Linked DNA regions of Homo sapiens: region 1 is linked to region 2. The links are contacts of gene promoters, found by promoter capture Hi-C in blood cells and fetal thymus (Javierre and others, 2016). All regions are on one chromosome and are shown on one strand. Each heading gives the region's core, a stretch centred on a gene start or on the middle of the fragment in contact. The rest is flanking DNA. Distances are from core to core; before and after follow the strand shown. Region 1 overlaps MANSC1 (MANSC domain containing 1). Region 2 holds the start of CREBL2 (cAMP responsive element binding protein like 2).

Region 1 (6,437 bases), core at 1,042-3,541, 280 kb before region 2:
TTTAGTAGAGATGGGGTTTCGTCATGTTGGCCAGGCTGGTTTCGAACTCCTGACCTCAGGTGATCCACCCGCCTCGGCCTCCCAAAGTGCTGGGATTACAGGCGTGAGCCACTGTGCCCGGCCCATAGTGTAAGTACTTTCTAAGTGTTTGCTATCAATAAGTAATAAATCATAGAATACTCGACTGAAAGTGGTACAAATATTAGAGATTTATTATTACAGAACAAGATGGAAGTTGGCAGTTCCAGGGTTTGTCCTGTCAATTAACCAAGGCATCCCGGAGACTGGACTCTTCCTGTACCCACTGCCACGCTCAGTGTGGCAGTGCCTTCTCCCCTCATCATGGCAGGGAGGCCACCACAGCTCCAACAACCAAGTCTTCACATGGTCAGCATCCCAAGCATGAAATAAGGGGATGTGGTTAGAAAGGGCTTTTCTCCTTGTGCAGCCTTCCCTTTACAAGCAAGAAAATCTCTCCTAGAAGTCCCTAGTAGGTTTCCTTTCAGCTAAAACTTGGGTCACAGGCCCATCCCTGAACCTGGCACTTCCAACCTGTAACAAATGAGGCAGAAGTGGGACTAGGGCTGGCTGCTGGGCAGCTGACCGGTAGTGCCCACCACAGTCTGGGAGCCAAAGAGTTCCAAAAGTTCCTCACTCAGGCCAGGGGTAATTGAGAAACAGGCACATAACAGTATTCATCCAGGAGTCCTCAGGTTTTTTAAGAGTTTTTTAGTTTTTTTTTTGTTGTTGTTGTTTTGTTTTTTTTTTTGAGATGGGCTCTCGTTCTGTCGCCCAGGCTGGAGTGCAGTGGCGTGATCATGGCTCACTGCAGCCTCGACCTCCTGGGCTCAAGTGATCCTCCCACCTCAGTCTCCCAAAGGGCTGAGATTACAGATGTGAGCCACTATGTGCCTGGCTAAGAGTAGCTTATTTTTATTTTATTTTATTTTATTTTTTTGAGATAGAGTCTTGCTCTGTCGCCTAGGCTGGAGTGCAATGGAGCGATCTTGGCTCACTGCAACCGCCCCCTCCCGGCCTCAAGCAATTATCCTACCTCAGCCTCCCAAGTAGCTGGGATTACAGGTGTCTGCCACCATGCCTGGCTAATTTTTGTATTTCTGTAGAGATGGGGTTTCACCATGTTGGCCAGGCTGGTCTAGAACTCCTGACCTCAGGTGATCCACCCACCTTGGACTCCCAAAGTGCTGGGATTACAGGCGTGAGCCACCACGCCTGGCCAAGAGTAGCTTTTTAACCTAGGTCAGTATCGTGTTGGTAAAATACGGAGAGAGGATGTTTGAGCAGAAGGACCTACCTCATCTTCTCACCTGTTCTAGGCTGCTACCTTCTCTTTCTACAAACCAAAGGAGGGGGCTCATAACTCAATGGGCCTTGTGGGAAAGGCTAACCAGACTAGTCACTGCTGAATTCCTCTAAGGGATTCCCCTACCCTGACTGCCCTTGCCACAGTTGCACCCACCATCCTAGGGGCAGTAAGTAGAGAGAGCTGTGTGAGAAGAGCACTCTTTCCACTCCAGATGTCCCCTACAACCTATATCCTCACGGCCACTAACAGTTTGGGCCCGTAGCATCACTCATCTGGACCGCTCCCATGTGGTCTCCCCATCACAACAAAGACTGCAGCAAGGTGGACAGAGAACTCCAAGAGAGCCAGGAAAATACCTTTATAAACCATCACAGAAAGCCTGATTTCCACTCGCTAAATCCATTAATAAAGAGAGGAGAAATTTTAAAATTCCAAGGCACCTGGTTACTAATCTGATTCTGGCCTACATGTGGATATTCAATAAATACTTGTTAAGTTAAATTGACTCAAGGTTTTATTTATTCAGCCTACTTAAAGCTTATGTAAACCCCTTGGAGATTTGTGTCAAGCTGTTAAGTTGGAAAATATAAGAAAAGTAGTATTTTCAATAGACCAGCTTTCCTCTTAATGTACTTTATGAACTTAGTGTAAACCAGGGAAATGGGGGAGGGGTACCAGAAGAGCAGAGGGGAAGGAGGTGAGGAGGAAGGAAGAGGTGAGGAGGAAGGAGAAGAAAAGCCTTTTCTGTCATTTCCTGCATTTGTCTTAATTGCTGTACTTATTAACCAGCTACTGCCCTCTAGTGCTCACTGTATTAAGTTCGCATCTGAATTCCATTTTTATCTTTAAAAACTCTGGTGACACTTGGAAGGGATCAAATTTCCTGTTTTGCAGATAAGCAAATTGAAGTCCAGAGGAAAGAGGTATCAAACTGACCCAGGGGACTTCTGGACTCTTTGTTACCTCACCTATAACTTGTCTGGAAAACTTTATTAAAAGCCTTTCTCAGAAATTTTAATTGGTAACCAGTAAAAATTGTAGCATCATGTTAGTGCTAGTTATTATTATTATTATTTTTGAGACGGAGTCTGGCTCTGTTGCCCAGGCTGGAGCGCAATGGTGCAATCTGGCTCACCGCAACCTCCGCCTCCTGGATTCAAACTACTCTCCTGCCTCAGCCTCCCAAGTAGCTGGAACTACAGGCGCCCGCCACCACGCCCGGCTAATTTTTTGTATTTTTAGTAGAGGCGGGGTTTCACCGTGTTAGCCAGGATGGTCTCGATCTCCTGACCTCGTGATTTGCCCATCTCGGCCTCCCAAAGTGCTGGGATTACAGGCGTGAGCCACCGCGCCTGGCCTGTGCTAGTTATTATTTCCAATGTTGTTCTAAATTAAGCTTAGACTGATTGCTGGTCAATTTAAGTAAGGATATAAAATAATAGTGGTACATTTTTAACTTAGTACAAGTTTAGAAAATGTCTATAATACTTCTTTAAAAAGTTAACTAGAGGCCGGGCACGGTGGCTCACGCCTGTAATCCCAGCACTTTGGGAGGCCGAGGCGGGCGGATCACAAGGTCAGGAGATCGAGACCATCCTGACTAACACAGTGAAACCCCGTCTTTACTAAAAATATAAAAAATTAGCTGGGCGTGTTGGCGGGCGCCTGTAGTCCCAGCTACTTGGGAGGCTGAGGCAGGAGAATGGCGGGAACCCAGGAGGCGGAGCTGGCAGTGAGCCGAGATCGCGCCACTGCACTCTAGCCTGGGTGACAGAGCAAGACTCTGTCACACACACACACACACACACACACACACACACACACACACAAGTTAACTAGAACAGATCCCAAGTGGATATGGCCATTTATCAGAACTGACTTATCATTGTCTCCATGTGGGCTAACATTCCGCTAGATTCTCCCAAGTGAAGCTCTTTGCTCACTGATGGGAAAAAGGGGGGGTTGTCATTTTAACGTGGAACGCATATTTTCACCACATAATCATTTTGCTAGTGGAAATAAATGGAAAGTTATCCAGCTGGACATGCTACTTATGAGAACACTACTGAGTAACAAAAGATTTATTCAAATATTTAATTGGAAGGAACTACATCTGGAATAAGTTTTAAAGGAATCCATATAAAAAGAAAAGCAAATCCATTAGAAATTGATATAAACAGTTGATTTTATCTGGAACCAAGAATGTGAATGAATTGGAACCTAGATGTCCTAACCTGTTTCTTTGCATAAAAGCCAGTTGAATTTTGAAATTTATATGGCAATTATACTTTATTACTTTACATAGAGCTTTGTTTTTAGCTAATATTTTAGAGACAGATTACCCAAAATTACCTAATTTGGTTCCCACTTCATTCCTTCTCAAAAACCAAACATAAAACAGAAGGGGGCCAGCTGTGGTGGCTCATGCCTGTAATCCCAGCACTTTGGGAGGCCGAGGAGGGTGGATCACTAGGTCAGGAGTTTGAGACCAGCCTGACCAACATGGTGAAACCCCGTCTCTACTAAAAATACAAAAATCACCCAGGTGTGGTGGCACATGCCTGTAATCCCAGATACTTAGGAGGCTGAGGCAGGAGAATCGCTTGAACCCAGGAGACGGAGGTTGCGGTGAGAGCCGAGATCGTGCTACTGCACTCCAGCCTGGGCAACAAAGCAAGACTCTGTCTCCAAAAAAAAAAAAGGAAAGCAGAAGGGGGCATTTTCCTGTCTTCAAAATACAACCTCCTGCTAAGACTAGCAAGTCAGCAGAAACTCATTGCATTTGGGCTTCTGGTTACTAAATGAATTAAGAGACACCGAGTTCCATCCTTAGATGTCCACATAGATCCCATTGATCAAATAATCCAGTCTTGAGTAACGTTTCCTGCGGAGTGATTCCGAGAGGATTCTACCCAGGAGGACGAGGCCTATCACCAGGAACAGGACACCAAAGAGCAGGGACCCGATAAGAAGCCATTTTTCAAATGGAAGGCCGTACTGATTTTCTGGAACACTGCCCTGGGAGGAACTGCCTGGACTGGCCTCCCTACCTTCCCAGGAAGCAGTTTTATTCATAGTGGAAGACTCCACATTTGACATAGAAAGTGCAGTAGGGTTATACACATTCCCTGTGTTCAAAGTTAGGTTGGAGATTTCTGTAAACGGTATGGTTTCTAAGCTGCCTTTCGAGTCCGTAGGTGCCTGAAAGGTGGTAGTCAGAACTGCTGTTGTAGCCATTGCTTGGAGTGTAGCCGCAGCCCGTGTAAAAACTGTAGAAATGAGGGTCGTGGGAGGCTGAGAAGTGACAGTGGTTACAGGTGGAGCTGTGGTGGCCAGCTGTGGCTGGGAAGTCCCAGAAGGTGTCACTGAAGCATTGGTGGGTAGAAGGGTGGCGGGCTTTGGAGTAGCCGAGGTGGTATGTGGAGAAGCAACTGCCACCGTAGCTGGGAGCGCACTCACATTTTCAGGCAGCAGATGAGCTATTTCTTGATCAGAGGAAAATTGTGAACTCTGAGAATGGCCTTTTTCCTTATAAGCAAGGAGCTGGGCACTTGCTTCATCCATCTTAAATAGTTTCTCCAAGTGATCTGAGGATCCAAACTTCTGAGAAAGTGTGTCTCTCCATGAGATATCGGTGGGCTTTGAATAATCTGTGTGATGATGGGCTAGGGGAGTGACTGCTTGTGAAAATTGGCCATGTAAGAGAGAATCTTCCTGGGGTAACTCTTGGCTTGGCAAATTTCTGGTCAAAGATGGAAAATCTGAAAATGTATGGAAAATAAAAGGAAGGCTTATGTAACTCCATGCTACGGTAGGTTAAAAAAATACAAACATATCAGCTTGTTCAAAAGATCCCTAAACTGGTTGGCCATGGTGGCTCACGCCTATAATCCCAGCACTTTGGGAGGCTAAGGCAGGAGGATGGTTTGAGGCCAGGAGTTGGAGACCAGCCTGGACAACATAGGGAGATCCTGTCTCTTAAACAAAAAAATCTCCAAACTGTTGATACTTGACATTTCATTGAAATGTGTGCAAAATGGAAAAACACAAATTGCTAAATGAGAATCTGATAACGCCGCCTCTCTACCAGATGCTGTGGTTTATTTCTAGCATGATAGGACAGAAGAGAAGAGAAATGTGTGGAGGAGGACCAGGCAAATTAAGGAAAAGGTGGGAGGTGCACAGCAGAGAAGCCGGAGGGGCTCAGCAGGGCAGCAAGAGGCTTACAAAGATGGAAAGGGTTCTCCGTCTTCCTAAGGGGCCAAGGCCAGGGAAAAAAGTGGGCCGGAGGGTGACCTGAGCAGGAAAGGTTGGCAGGGAGAATGCGGGGGAAGGTGTGGGCTTCTGCAAGACATGCCACCTAAGACTGAGATGACAAATGGGGAGCAAGTAATCATCAGGAGAGATTTCAGTGGGGGCATGAGGCAGGCAAGAAAGGTATGTGGAAGCTGTGGGAAATGAGGCAATAGAGCAGGAGAGAGGGAGCAGAATCCCTGTGGTGTGTCTCTGACAGGGAGGAGGAGGAGGGGCCAGGCAGGGTCTGGTCTCCGCTCTGAGCACTGAGGCCACAGCAGCAGCAGAACAGCAACAACGACAACAAAAAACCAGAGATATATCGTTCCAGCACTGTGCGCAGAGGAGGGAGGCTATCTGGGAGATTTCATTTGGACTCTCAAAGATTAGAATTTTGGAGCCAATGTCATAGGTCATGAGGATGATGGGACCAATATTTGAAATCATGATGACCACACTGTAGACACAGAGGGCAGAAAAACCATACAGTCCCGATGCCTGCTGAGGAGAAACCAGCCCCAGATCCTGCTCCTGCTCCATGAAGCTTAGAATTTTTCTCCTGATCACACACCCCATTTATCACAGCTCAAACTGGAAAGACCTGTTCAAGCAATCAAGTGCAGGGAATGACCAGGTGAATTGCCATGTATCACTCTGCTGCTAGGCTAACCATCTCACATTAGAACTGCAGAAAACACAAGGAAAGAAGCAGAGGAATGTCCTGGCATTTCTCAGTCCACTCACTCCTGCTCTCTTTTCCTTTTTCTTCCTCAATTCACCTCCATGCCAGTTTCCAAACTGGTCCTCAGTCTCCTCT
Region 2 (6,754 bases), core at 627-3,126:
TATTCACAGGATGTGCAACCATCACCAAAATCAATTTTAGATAATTTTCTTTTCTTCTTTTTTTTTTTTTTTTTTTTTGAGTCGGAGTTTCGCTCTTGTTGCTCAGGCTGGAGTGCAATGGCACGGTCTCAACTCACTGCAACCTCCGCCTCCTGGGTTTAAGCCATTCTCCTGCCTCAGCCTCCCACGTAGCTGGGATTACAGGTATGCTCTCCCAGGCCTGGCCAACTTTGTATTTTTAGTAGAGATGGGTTTCTCCATGTTGGTCAGGCTGGTCTCGAACTCCTGACCTCAGGTGATCAGCCCACCTCGGCCTCCCAAAGTGCTGGGATTACAGGCGTGAGCCACCATGCCCGGCTGAATTTTAGATCATTTTCATCACCTCAAAAAGAAACCCAGTACTCATTAACCGTCACTCTCCTTTCCAGGATCCCTCCATCCCTGCCATTCTTCAACCCTAGCCCTTGGCAACCACTAATGGATTTTTTGGTCTATTTAGATGTGCCTGTTCCAGACACTTCATTATAAATGGAATCATACAATATGTGGCCTATTGTGTCTGGCTTTTTTCACTTCACATAAAGTTTTCAAGGTTCAGACATATTGAAGTGTGTATATCCCTTCATTTTTTTTCATTGCTGAATAATATTTCTTTCCTTTTTTTTTGAGACAGAGTCTTGCTCTGTTGCCCAGGCTGGAGTGCCGTGATCACAGCTCACTTCAGCCTCCAACTCCAGGGCTCAAACGATCCTCCCACCTGGGCCTCCCGAGTGGCTAGGACTACAAGCACCACCACCACACCCAAGTAATTTTTAAATTTTTTGTAACACACCCAACTAATTTTTAATTTTTTTTGTAGAGACTGCATCTTACTATATGGGTCTTCTTCCTTCTTCTTTCTTCTTCCTTCTTCTCCTTCTTCTTCCTTCATCGTTCTTCTTCCTTCTTTCATTCTTCTTCTTCTTTTTTTTTTTTTTAAATACAGTGTCTGGCTCTGTCGCCCAGGCTGGAGTGCAGTGGTACAATCTTGGCTTATTGCAGCCTCTGCCTCCCAGGCCCAAGTGATCCTCTCATGTCAGCCTCCCCAGTAACTGGGATTACAGGCATGTGCCACCACACTCGACTAATTTTTGTATTTTTTTGTAGAGACAGGTTTTGCTATGTTGCCCAGGCTGGTCTCGAACTCTTGGGCTAAAGCAATCCTCCCGCCTCGGCCTCCCAACGTGCTGGGATTACAGGCGTGACCCACCACCCCTGGCCAGTATTTCTTAATTTGTATAGTCCACACTGGTTTATCCATTCATCCAGTAAAGGACATTTGCGTTGTTTCCACTTTTTGACTATTATGAATAATGCTGCTAGGAAAGAACATTTATATACAAGTTTTTGTGTAGTCACTCGTTTTAATTTCTCTTGGGTATGGGAGTGGCCAATATTCTGAAGAACTGCCAAATTTCTTCCCAAAGTAGCTGCACTATTTTACATACTTAGTTTTTGTTTTTCGTTTTTTTTTAAATAAAGAACCTTTAGGGTTTCCTCAGCGTCCCAGAGGAGGGCCTGCTTCCGGCACCCCGCCTTCAGGGCTGCCTCCGCAGAGCACCAAACTCCCGTCCCCGCCATTCCAGGCCCTGGCACTTAGGAGCCAAAACCTCAGGTCAGGCGCACTTTGGGCCTCCAGCCCAGCCCCGCCTCCTCAGCGCTAGCTAGTAGGCAAAAGGAAAACAGCTGCCCCTTAATGAGGCTATGTGGACATCGTAGTTTTTTTTCCAGTCAGTAGCGCAGAGACTGTGATAAGAAAAATCACAATTCCCAGAATGCCGCGGTGCTACGGCAGCCGAAGGGGCCATTCCGTGTGCAGCGCTCCCGCCCACCCTCCGGTCTCGGCGGCTCTCCAGAGCGTCTGTAAACACCCAGAGACTGTCATGGAGGGGGAGGAGGAGGCGGCGGCGGCGAAGGGAGGCGTTTGGGGCCGCCTCCAGGGTCCGCTCTGCCATTCCTGAACTGGTCCCTCGTCCCCGTGACTCTGGCATCAGGGAAGCGAACTGTTAGGCGAGAGGAGGAGGCAGCCAGAACCATATCCCCTTCTTCCTCGGGGCGGGGGCCGGGCCAGGCCGGCTGAGCCGGGGGAGGGCTCCGGGAGGGAGTGCCTGGCCAGGCCGGCCTGTCTGCCGCGATGGATGACAGTAAGGTAAGTCTTGTGGTTTGCACGCGCCGCCGCCTTCTTGTCGCTCAATGCTAGTCCCGCGGCTGAACCTCCGCTATGTAGTCCACGCCAACACCCAAGAGACACCTGCCTAAAACATCCCTGCGCCTCTCCAGTCCACTGCCCGATGGTACCCAGCCAGGAAATCAGGGAACACCGGGGCTGCGTTTTTCCAGGAAGGGCCCTCTCTGGAAATTTTTCACTCCCAGGGCGTTTGCTAGCTTTCCAGGTAGTGCAACCCCTAGTCCTTAACTTGCCTGTCGAGATAAGAAACTACTGTACTTTTTCTTCTTGCACTTTTTTGCTGCCTCCTCTCTCCAGTTTGGAGACTTTAGTGCACGCTGAACCAGCCTTATTCCCCTTGACGATTCCCCTTCTCTCAGGCTCCCTTACTCAATGCCCCATTCATATAATCAGTTCACTCCCCCTCTGAGCTATTTCCTGTGGTTGGTTGGAACACCGCTAAGCTCCTGTTGCTATTTGGCCAGTGTGGAGTTTAACCTCCACTAGAAAGCCTTCTCTAAAAAAATACTGATTTTCCTCTTGTTAACTTTAATAGCCCATCACCATCCAATTTCCCTGTCCAAATCACTTACTTTATGATTATAAAATAATAGATAATGTTCATTATTGGTTAATCCAAATAGTTTATCTATGTATAGCCTTTTTGTCTTTATTTATTAATTGAGACGGAGTTTCGCTCTTGTCGCCCAGGCTGGAGTGCAATGGCGCGATCTCGGCTCACCACAACCTCCGCCTCCCGGGTTCAAGCGATTCTCCTGCCTCAGCCTCCCGAGCAGCTGGGATTACAGGCATGCACCACCATGCCCGGCTAATTTTGTATTTTTGGTAGAGATGGGGTTTCTCCATGTTGGTCAGGCTGGTCTCGAACTCCCAATCTTAGGTGTCCGCTCGCCTCGGCCTCCCAAAGTGCTGGGATTACAGGCGTGAGCCACCGCGCCTGGCCGCCTTTCTCTCTTTACATCTACCCACATTAGTGTTGTTTAGTTTTATTTCCTGAAGATAGGGATGGTCAAAGATTTGTTTATTGATGTTTCAGGTTGTTTTGGATTTGGACTTTTTTATTTTAAGGAATCAGACTTCTAAAATTTGCCAGTTTTTAAAGTAAAAACCGTCCTTCTTTGTGCTTCTCAGCGTCTTCTGTTTCACAGTCTTTGGCATACTCTTTACGATAGCTTTGTCCTTTGTTTGGGTGTCTTTTTTTGCTGCTGCTGCAGTTTTTGTTTCACATATCCTCAGAGAGATTCAAAAAATTTCCAACTTCTCTGTGTTCCTTGTTTTATTCTTTCCTTCTTGTTTTCTCTTCCTCTTCATGTAGAAGGCTGTGAGGAAGTGACAGATGGAAGGGAAAGCCCAGTGCAGTACTCTGGAATTGTTACTCACCTAGAGGAACGGATTGCTTGTGAAGTAGTAAACCCCTCTTAATAGGAAGTGGTATTTCCAAGACAGAAGGGGGGCGAGTTTCAGGAAGCTATCAGCTCATAAGAGTGCTTAATATGCTCAGTACACACATTAATTCCCTTGACAAGAATCTTGCCCTTGTTTGTTTACAACAATGCAACAGAATGCGGGATAACATTGTAGACTCTTCAGTTTTACTATAGTAACATTCGTGGGGTATGATATTGGGGAAGTGGTATTTCCAAGACAGAAGGGTAGCGTTCTAAAAGTTTTCCAGAAAAATCAGCAAGTAATTTTTTTTTTTTTTTGCTTTGAATATTTCTTTGGGGAGGGGACATCACACTTCTTTCTTTTTTCTTTTTTTTCTTTTTTTTTTTTTTTTTTTTGAGACGGAGTCTCCGCTGTATCGCCCAGGCTGGAGTACAGTGGCACGATCTCGGCTCACTGCCGAGAATTGCTCTTGGGTTCAAGCAATTCTCCTGCCTCAGCCTCCTGAGTAGCTGGGACTACAGGCGTGTGCCACCACATCCAGCTAAATTTTTATTTTTCGTAGAGACAGGGTTTCACCATGTTGATCAGGCTGGTCTCAAACTCGAGTGACCTCAGGTGATCCGCCCACCTCAGCCTCCCAAAGTGCTAGGAATACAGGTGTGAGCCACTGCGCCCGGCCAGGACATCACACTTCTACTCAATGAAGATAAACGTTTTTACACCTTTTGTCTTTTTTACCCCTATTATGCCACGAATTCATAGGGAATAAGTTCTAGTAGCTCAGGCTGTTTTCCACTGGTGGAGTAGGCTGGTGCTTCAATTGAACCCAGGTACCTTTCTTATTTAGTTTCCTTTTTTTTTTTTTTTTTTGAAATAGGGTCTTGCACTGTTGCCCAGGCTGGGGTGCGTTGGTGTGATCACAACTCACTGCAGCCTCGAACTCCTGGGCTCAAAGCAATCCTCCACCTCAGCCTCCCAAGTGGCTGGGACTACAGGAATGCACATCCATTCCTAGCTAATTTTTTGCAGAGATGAGGGTCTCACTGGCTTTTTTTTCTGATCATTTTCCTTCACACGTTTCTGGAAGCTGTCAGCTCTTAAGAGTACTTAATATGCTCAATATACACATTAATTCTCTTGGCAAGAATCTTTCCCTTTTTTGTTTACAACAATGCCAACAGAATGCTGGGTAACATTGTAGACTCTTCCAGTTTTGCCATAGTAAGATTTGTAGGGCATTAGTTTTTTTTTTTTTTTTTTGAGATGGAGTCTCTCTCTGTCCCCCAGGCTGGAGTGCAGTGGCACGATCTCAGCTCACTGCAATCTCTACCTCCTGGATTTAAGCGATTCTCCAGCCCCAGTCTCCCGAGTAGGTGTGATTACAGGCATGGGCCACCATGTCCGGCTAATTTTTTTTTGAGACAGGGTCTTGCTCAGTCGCCCAGGCTTGATGCAGTGGTGCAGTCTTGGCTCACTATAAACTCCGCCTCCCGGGTTCAAGTGATTCTCCTGCGTCAGCCTCCTGAGTAGCTGGGATTACAGGTGCATGCCACCACAACCGATTAATTTTTGTATTTTTCTTAGAGATAGGGTTTATTAGAGCCTGCCATGTTGGCCAGGCTGACAGGGTTTTGCCATGTTGGCCAGGCTGGTCTCGAACTCCTGGCCTCAAGTGATCCGCCCACCTCGGCCTCCCAGAGTGCTGAGATTACAGGCATGAGCACTGCACCTGGCCAACTTTTTGCATTTTTTTTTTTTTTTAACAGAGACAGGGTTTCATCATGTTGGCCAGGCTGGTCTGGAACTCCTGACCTCAGGTGATCTGTGTAAGGTATTCCCTTTTAAACAGTCCCCATTCCATTGATGTCTAAAATATCAACCTTCTTTTTTTTTTTTTCTTTGAGACGGAGTCTTGCTCTGTCACCAGGTTGTAGTGCAATGGTGCGATCTTGGCTCACTGCAACCTCTGACTCCCTGGTTCAAGCAATTCTCCTGTCTCAGCCTCTGAGTGGGGATTACAGGTGTGTGCCACCATGCCCAGCTAATTTTTGTATTTTTAGTAGAGCTGGGGCTTCACTAGGTTGGCCAGGATGGTCTCAGTCTCCTGACCTCCTGATCCGCCCACCTCGGCCTCCCAAAGTGCTGGGATTACAGGCATGAGCCACCGCACCTGGCTACAATATCACCTTTCTTGTAGGTTTCCATGTATGTGGCCGAAGGAACAACTCCATGTGTTCTAAAAGGCCTGGAGAACATCTGTTGGTGCCTTTTCTCTTTGCCTTTGTGTTAATCATTTTGGTGAATTACTGGAAGATGGCAGTTCCAGCCAAAAGGCAGAAATAATATTTCATAAAAGTCTTTGGTAGCTTGATCTTTCAGTGTTAATTTTGAAATTAAATATTAACACTGTATCTATTATCTTGATGAGAAAATAATACTAATGTTATGGGTATTTAAGGATGGTAGAAGAACATACTGTTCTTTATTTTTCCTAACTTGAGATTCAGAATATATTCTTTCTGATTTTCAGTTTTTTCCTTTTCAGACCTTTGAAACATTTAACAACTTTCTGAAAGTCTTCAATAATTTCAAATAAGTCGAAGAAAAATACATAGGATTTTGGGCTACTTAGCTGTAAGATCATATAAAAGTTATTTCTAAAACTAGCAATCTGGTGGGGTGAAGGAAGGTTCAAAATGTCATTGTTTAGCCTGAAAGAGTGAAGTTAAAATTTGAGGGCAAGCTATCCGTGAATTACTTCCTAAAGGATACACAGGTAAGCACAGTGAATTTGATTCTCACTCTTTATTAATTCATTGTTTTTATAAGTACTTAGAAACCAGCAGCTTTGAAAACCTTAGTGAGCATCAAAAAGAAAATTCATTTAAATGTCTCTGGATGGAGAGTGCCTCTGGAATACTCTACTTGCACTTTGAATGCATGTTGTAGTTGTAGATAAGTAATATTTACATGTCATGTATAATACTGGACTCTCCTTCAACAGTCAGGCAGTGTGAAACTGTCCTTATATAAGGCTTTGGCAGCTCCCAGCCCTGCGTTTTCTGTGCCCTAGTTATAATCCCACAAAATTGTACTGTCCTCCTAGTATATACAGACATACACACAAAACACACTTTT

What was found. Contacts are between HindIII fragments. The CHiCAGO score rates a contact against its expected background, and 5 or more counts as called.
Region 1: a contact is called between a fragment that was not itself captured here and the fragment with the promoter of CREBL2 in region 2, in 1 of 17 cell types (total CD8 T cells). The highest score is 5.6, in total CD8 T cells.

Annotation. Positions count from the first base shown.
Region 1 is chr12:12,325,871-12,332,307 of GRCh38, forward strand. MANSC1 (MANSC domain containing 1) reads right to left here. Exons shown (of 4, transcript NM_018050.4): 4 at 186-5,088. The coding sequence ends at 4,157. Among named protein-coding and RNA genes, the nearest start is that of MANSC1, 21 kb to the right of the region's middle. The HindIII fragment of the contact is 859 bases long and covers 1,863-2,721 here.
Region 2 is chr12:12,610,000-12,616,753 of GRCh38, forward strand. CREBL2 (cAMP responsive element binding protein like 2) reads left to right here and starts at 1,877. Exons shown (of 4, transcript NM_001310.4): 1 at 1,877-2,188. The coding sequence starts at 2,174. It also overlaps the pseudogene RPL21P136. RefSeq lists enhancers at 1,246-1,997, 1,591-1,670, 1,721-1,770 and a silencer at 1,931-2,230. The HindIII fragment of the contact is 19,687 bases long and covers 1-6,754 here.